2 separate regions of the Homo sapiens genome follow, and region 2 is linked to region 1. The links are contacts of gene promoters, found by promoter capture Hi-C in blood cells and fetal thymus (Javierre and others, 2016). All regions are on one chromosome and are shown on one strand. Each heading gives the region's core, a stretch centred on a gene start or on the middle of the fragment in contact. The rest is flanking DNA. Distances are from core to core; before and after follow the strand shown. Region 1 holds the start of BICRA-AS2 (BICRA antisense RNA 2). Region 2 holds the start of DHX34 (DExH-box helicase 34).

Region 1 (3,348 bases), core at 142-2,641:
CAAGTAGCTGGGAGTACAAGCACACACCACCATGCTGGGCTAATTTTTGTTTGGACAGGGTCTCGCTATGTTGCCCAGGCTGGATAAATTATTATTATTATTACTATTTTTGAGACAGAGTTTCCCTCTTGTCGCCCAGGCTGGAGTGCAATGGTGTGATCTCGGCTCACTGCAACCTCTGCCTTCCGGATTCAAGCGATTCTCCTGCCTCAGCCTCCCAAGCAGCTGGGATTACAGGCGTGCACCACCACACCCAGCTAAGTTTTGTATTATTAGTAGAGAAGGGGTTTCACCATGTTGGCCAGGCTGGTCTCGAACTCCTGACCTCAGGTGATCTACCCTCCTCGGCCTCCCAAAGTGTTGGGATTACAGGTGTGAGCCACTGCGCCTGGCCGATAAATTATAAAAAAAAAAAATACGTTGAAGTAAATATTATGGGTAGTACCGCCAAGATACTAGAACACATGTTAAGGCTTAAAAAAACAGAGGCCGGGCACTTTGGGAGGCCGAGAATAGCTTGAACCCAGGGGACGGAGGTTGCGGTGAGCCTAGATCGTGCCACTGCACTCCAGCCTGGGCGAAAGAGCGAAACTCCGTCTCAAAACAAAACAAAATATAACACAACAACAACAAAATCACAATCTGTCTCGATTACTCATTTATTCAACCCGCATTCACCTACTGTGTGCACGAGCTTTTCTAGGGCACTGGGGAGGCAGAAGGGACTAAAACAAAGTATAAATCTCCCTGGGCTGCAAGCATCGGGAGGGCAGGTCCGGGGGCTCTGTGTCCCCACTGGGCCCCCAGCACTGCGCAGCGCACACAGTGGGCGCTCACCAAGCGCTCGCTAAGGGCAACGCGTGAATCCGTGTCCCGCCAGCAGGGCGTTTACGGCCTGGTGGGGCGGAAACGGACCCGACACCACCGCGGCGTCCTGGGGCTTCTGGGAATCCCATCAGCGCGGCCAGAGCGGCCGGGGACAGGCTCCGAGGCAGGCCCGACCCGCCTCCCCGGCGCCGCCGTGGCTCGACGGAGACCAGCTAGGGTGAGTGATCGAGCCACGCCTGGGGTCCCGGCCTGTCACCCCGAAGTCCCCGCCGCCTTCCACCCTGTCAGGCTCCAACTCTGGGCTCCGGCGCGGTCCCACCTCCGGGGGGAACTCCCCTCCATCCCCTCCATTTCCTTCATCCTCGACTCCCGCTATCTTTTCGGACCTGCGGCGCTCCCCCTGGACGCGTCCTCCCGCCGGACGACCGTCCTCCGCCTCAGGGGACGCGCCCAGGACGCACGGCGCCCCCTCCCCAGCCGGACCGGCGGTCTGGGAGCGCGGATCCCTTCAGCTCCCCCGCGCCCCAGCATCCGGATCAGGGCTCGAGGCAGTCGACAAACTACACCCGAGCTCGAGCAGGCGCGCCCCTGAACCCCCGGGACTGGGGCTGGGGGCGGGGGCGGCGCCGGCGCGGAGGGCCCAGTCCCCGGACGTCCGCAGCCTCCCATTGGCTCCGGGTCCCGCCGCTCGGCCTGGCGGGGCCGGGGCTGGTCCGCCCGGACGCGGGGCGGGGATTCCTGAAGCCCCTCCTCCGGCGAGGGCGGAGGGAAGAGGAGGAGGAGGAGGAGGAGGAAGGGGGTGGGGGGCGGAACACAAAACCTGAGAGGTTTTTTTTTTTTTTTTTCCGTTTGCATTTAATTAAAAAAAATTTTTTTTTTTTTTGCATACCCGAGGGGCGCTCCCCGGAACGGGCGCGGGCCCGGGGCGCGCGGGCCTGGGCGCGGGGCGGCGGCGGGGGCCCGGCAGCGGCTGCCGAGCGGCCGCCATGCGATCAGGCAGTGCGCTGACCGGCCCGGCCGGCCGGCCCCTTCTGGGTCCTCCCTTTGCAGCCCGTGCGGGGCCGTCTCGGAGACCCCGCGCCGACGGCTGCTCAAACATCAGGGTGAGTTTCTCACAATGTAGCAATTTCTCTTTAAATCTCTTAACTCTCTCTACCTGCGAGTCGGGGCTGTGACAGGGCGCAAAAGCGAGGGGGGAGTGGGGGTTGGCGGCGAGGGTGTGTGTGGGGGGAGCCGGAGCCGGGGCCGAACCCACCCCCGCGACACTCTCACACTCAGCCCCCCAGCCGGGGCGCAGCGCCCGCTGCCTCCTTTTTTTTTTTTTTTTTTTTTTCCTGCTCGGCGCCCACCGCCACCGGCACCCCCAGCCCCGCGTCTCTTCCACCACCGCCGCCGCCCCGATCCTATGGGGACCCCCCCCCAACCGGCTTCCCTGCCCAGACCCGGCGCCCAGTGCCTCCCCGGCCCTCCCGCCGGCTGCCGGGGATACAATGGAGCGGCGGAGAGAGGAGACCTAACGTTCCACGGGGGGAGGGGCGCGGAGACCCCCTCCCCGTCCCGGCCCCCTCCCCTCGCCCCGCTCCCCGCCTTTCGGGGAAGGCGAAGGCCACCGGGCAGCGGGCGGTGATCTCCCGGCCGGAGGCGGAGAGCCTGCATCTCCCCGCCTCGCTCGGCCCCTGCGCCCCCTCCCCAAATCCCTCCCGTGGGTGTCGCGGACAGTGGGGGGCCCTGGAAAGCTGGGGAGGGATGGATGGGGAAGGAGGCCACCGGGGCTCCCCCCTTCGCACCGCCCCTAAACAATGAAAGGAGTTGACTTGACCCCCAGCCCCCGGCAATAGAGGGAGGTGACCCCCTCCCCCACCCCCAGCTGAGGCTCATCCCGGAGGGGGCCGTTACGGGGGTGGGGGGGGTGAGCGCCTCCTGTCACTTCCCGAGGTTCGGGGCGGCCCCCCATCTCCTACCCCTCGGCCTGGGAACGGGAGGCACCAGGCCCGGCCGGGGCACCGCGCTCGGGTGGTGACCTTTAGACAAAGGCAGCCCTTTCCCCGGGGTGAGCCCGGACGAGCTGGGCCTGCGGCCTCCCCGGGCCCCTGCGGAGGGCAGCCAGGCCGCGGGCACCCGGAGGGAGGGATGGAGGAGGAGGGAGGAGGGATGGAGCCATCTGGTTTTCCCATCCCTGGCTGCCCCTCGTCTGCTTCCCCGACTCCTGTCACGGGCGGCCGCGGGGAGACGAGGGACCAGGGGCTGCTTGGGCCTTGGTGCGCGGCCAGCCGGGAGGACCGGGCAAGGAGCCGCGGGAGAGCTAGGCTCGGGCTCGGGCGCCGGCGGTGATTGGGAGGCACTGCGGCTTCTTCCTCTCCGCGCCCCTTTGTTTTGCTTTGTGGTTCTGAGCAGCTGAACTTCCCGGGAGGTGGGGTCAGAGGCCGCGGTGTCAGCTCTCCCGGGGAGGCCCAGGTGACAGGTCCTAGCTCTCTGGTGTCCCCATCCTGGTGGGCTGCAGTCTGTGCCCAGGCCCATGTC
Region 2 (3,431 bases), core at 376-2,875, 260 kb before region 1:
TTCTTTTGATAATAATGTATGAATTGGCTTCTCTATCTCTAAGTTGTTTTCCAGAGGCTTGATAATTATATCCAACGTTCCACTTGACATCCCCAGTTGATGTCCAATGCATAACTCAAACAATATGCTGAAAACAGATCTTCGGATTTTCTCTCTAGCCTCTCTCCCACGTCTTCCTGATGGTAGTAGATGGTGACTCCATATTTCCAAATGCTCAGGCCAAAAACTTTAGAGTCCTTCTTTTTTTTAGACATAGAACTTTTTTCTGGCCAGGCACGGTGGCTCATGCCTGTAATCCCAGCACTTTGGGAGGCCGAGGTGGGCGGATCACGAGGTCAGGAGATCGAGACCATCCTGGCTAACACAGTGAAACCCCGTCTCTACTAAAAATACAAAAAATTAGCCGGGCGTGGTGGCGGGCGCCTGTAGTCCCAGCTATGCGGGAGGCTCAGGCAGGAGAATGGCGGGAACCTGGGAGGCGGAGCCTGCAGTGGGCCGAGATCGCGCCACCGCACTCCAACCTGGGCGACAGCGAGACTCCGTCTCAGAAAAAAAAAACAACAACACTTTTTTCTTTTTTTGAGACAGTCTGGCTCTGTCACCCAGGCTGGAGTGCGGTGGTACCATCATGGCTCACTGCAGCCTCAGTCTCTCAGCCTCCTAGGTTCAATCGATCCTCCCACCTCAGCCTCTTGAGTAGCTGGGACTACAGGCACACACTACCATATCCGACTAACTTTTGTATTTTTTTGTAGAAACAGGGGTTGGCCATATTGCCCAGGCTGGTGTGGAACGCCTGACCTCAGGTGATCCACCTACCCCGGCCTCTCAAACTGTTGGGATTACAGGCGTGAGCCGCCGTGCCCAGCTGTTTCTTCTTTCAGTTAATAAAAGAGAGGGTGCATTGCTGGCTAATGAGATTGTTTCTATACTTGGGGGTCTTCCTGAATGTGTGTGATTGAGTTTATTGCAGAGAAAGGTAACAGAAAATGGGGTTGTAGAAAGAAAAGAGGTAGAGGCTGAGTGAGATGCCCCACATCTGTAATCTCAGTGCTTTGGGAGGCCAAGGCGGGCGGATCACTTGAGATCAGGAGCTGGAGACCAGCCTGGCCCAAATCGTGAAACCTCGTCTCTACTAAAAATACAAAAATCAGCCAGGTGTAGTGGTGTGCGCCTGTAATCCCAGCTACTCGAGAGGCTGAGGCAGGAGAATGGTTTGAACTTGGGAGGCGGAGATTGCAATGAGGTGAGATAACGCCACTGCACTCTAGCCTGGGAGACAGTGAGACTATGTCTCAAAAGAAAAAAAAAAGTTCCTGGGCCCCAGACCAGCTCTCTCTTTGGGTTAAAACCCCGGCGTCCCGGAGCTGAGGCGCACGTGGCTATGCTTGGGGAGGAGAGGGCGGGGCCGGGGAGGAGGCGCTTGCAAGTCTGTACCGCAATGCCTCTACTGGCCTCTAGAGGGCGCAATCACTCGAGGCTCCGCCCCAAGCGAGGCGGGGCGGAAGCGTGCTGTGCACAGGCGCAAGATGGGTCTTGGGCAGCCCAGAGCTTCCGATTGGCTCTTCTGTGGTGGCGGGGCGGGGTCAGAACGAGATGGCTGTGTGCGCAGGCGCAAGACTAGCGCTCTTGGGACCGGAAGTTAAGGCGTTCGCGGCGTGTGGTAAGTGAGGGGGGCGGGACGGGTGTACCGGGTTGTGGCGGCGATGGCTGTCGGAGTTGGGCCGCTTGGGGGTAGTTTGGGGTGCGAGTCCAGGGGCGAGGGAAGTCTCGAGATGAGGAGAAATGTAGGAGGCAGCCGAAGGGCCGGCAAACGCGGACAGAGATGGCACCTGAGCGTCCCTGGGAGAACCTGGGCGACAGGCCAGAGACCGAAAGAAATGGAGGCACGAAAAGAAGCTTCGAGAAACTGAGGGACTGAAAGACGAGGGTGTTGGGAGAGGAGGGAAGCTGAAAACTAGAGAGCGTGGGCGAGAGTGCCGATGGGTTCCAGCGAGAGTCTTAGAGCCCACGAGGCCGAGAGGCGTGGTCGCCCATGAACTTGGGGAGTGGAGGGAAAAGTCGGAAACTGATCGTGGACACTAGAAACAGAAAAAATGGAATTTAGATGGAGAAACGAGACACTGAATCACGGGGGAGACCGAGAGATACGGAAGGATGGAGACAGTTGAAATAGGAAGAACCCCACAAAAGCTGGAGATAATGGAGAACGATGCTGAGAAATGGAAAAGCGAGGGAGTGGAGCCCGAACCCCTGGATTTGAGTGGCTCATGTAACACTCGGCTACTCACTTAGCCTCTCTATTGCTCAGTAAAATAGGGGGTGATCATAGTGCCTGACAGTCGTGAGAAAAGTGTGTGTGTGTATGTACATAGGTGTGGGATAGGAATAGATCATGCAGATAGGATAGGTCTGTGTGTTAATGTGAGTAAGTAAGCATGAGCTATTACTAAAGCTTCTGATATTGGGAGATAAAGTATTAGATGGGGAAATGGAGAGAGGTGGTGATGGAGAGTGAATACTGGAAGGACAAAAGGGAGGAAAAAAAGATTCAAACAGAAAATGAGAAAGGGCGTGGTGACTCACTCCTGTCATCCACAGCACTTTGGGAGGCTGCGGTGGGAGGATCACTTGAGCTTGGGAGGTCGAGGCTGCTGTACGCCGTGATTGTGCCACTGCACTTCAGGCTGGGTGACAGAGTGAGACCCTGTTTCAAAAAAACAAAAATGAATTTTTTTTTTTTTTTTTTGAGATGGAGTTTCGCTCTTGTTGCCCAGGCTGGAGTGCAGTGGTGCGATCTTGGCTCACTGCAACCTCTGCCTCCTGGGTTCAAGCGAGTCTCCTGCCTCAGCCTCCAGAGTAGCTGGGATTACAGGCAGGTGCCACCACCCTGGCTAATTTTGTATTTTTAGTAGAGACGGGATTTTTCCATGTTCGTCAGGCTGGTCTCGCACTCCCGACCTCAGGTGATCTGCCTGCCTCAGCCTCCCAAAGTGCTGGGATTATAGGCGTGAGCCACCATGCCCGGCCTGAAAAAGCATTTTTTTTTTAATGAGAAAGATGGAGAAAGTCAAATGGAGAACTGAAGAGAGATGGAGAAAGGAAGAGTTGGATTACAGAGAAAAATCAGACTACAGAATGACTCATAAGTGAAGAGAGATGCGAGCTGACTAGGACAGGGAAGAGAGATGAGGGTGATGATGAACAAGACGGACTGAAAAAGAGACAGAGGCCTGAAGATGGAGTGGAGAGAGATGGAGGGGACAGAGGGGGAAACAAACCCACTGAAGGCCATGAGCCCAGGGCAAATAGGCCAAGAGACCAAAAGATGGTCAGAGACACAGTTATACAGAAACTAGAAGATGCAGACAATCTAGAAGCCAAAAAAGATAGATACCTTGAGAGGAGCGGGATGCTGTCAGTGGGGCCCA

What was found. Contacts are between HindIII fragments. The CHiCAGO score rates a contact against its expected background, and 5 or more counts as called.
Region 2: a contact is called between the fragment with the promoter of DHX34 here and the fragment with the promoter of BICRA-AS2 in region 1, in 5 of 17 cell types (total B cells, erythroblasts, fetal thymus and 2 more). The highest score is 7.1, in total B cells.

Annotation. Positions count from the first base shown.
Region 1 is chr19:47,607,238-47,610,585 of GRCh38, forward strand. BICRA-AS2 (BICRA antisense RNA 2) reads right to left here and starts at 1,392. Exons shown (of 1, transcript NR_186352.1): 1 at 636-1,392. BICRA (BRD4 interacting chromatin remodeling complex associated protein) reads left to right here and starts at 1,897. Exons shown (of 15, transcript NM_001394372.1): 1 at 1,897-1,931. RefSeq lists silencers at 902-981, 1,052-1,101, 1,152-1,231, 1,292-1,671, 1,782-1,831 and 4 more. The HindIII fragment of the contact is 11,162 bases long and covers 1-3,348 here.
Region 2 is chr19:47,347,690-47,351,120 of GRCh38, forward strand. DHX34 (DExH-box helicase 34) reads left to right here and starts at 1,626. Exons shown (of 17, transcript NM_014681.6): 1 at 1,626-1,663. RefSeq lists an enhancer at 1,466-2,370. The HindIII fragment of the contact is 2,372 bases long and covers 1-1,897 here.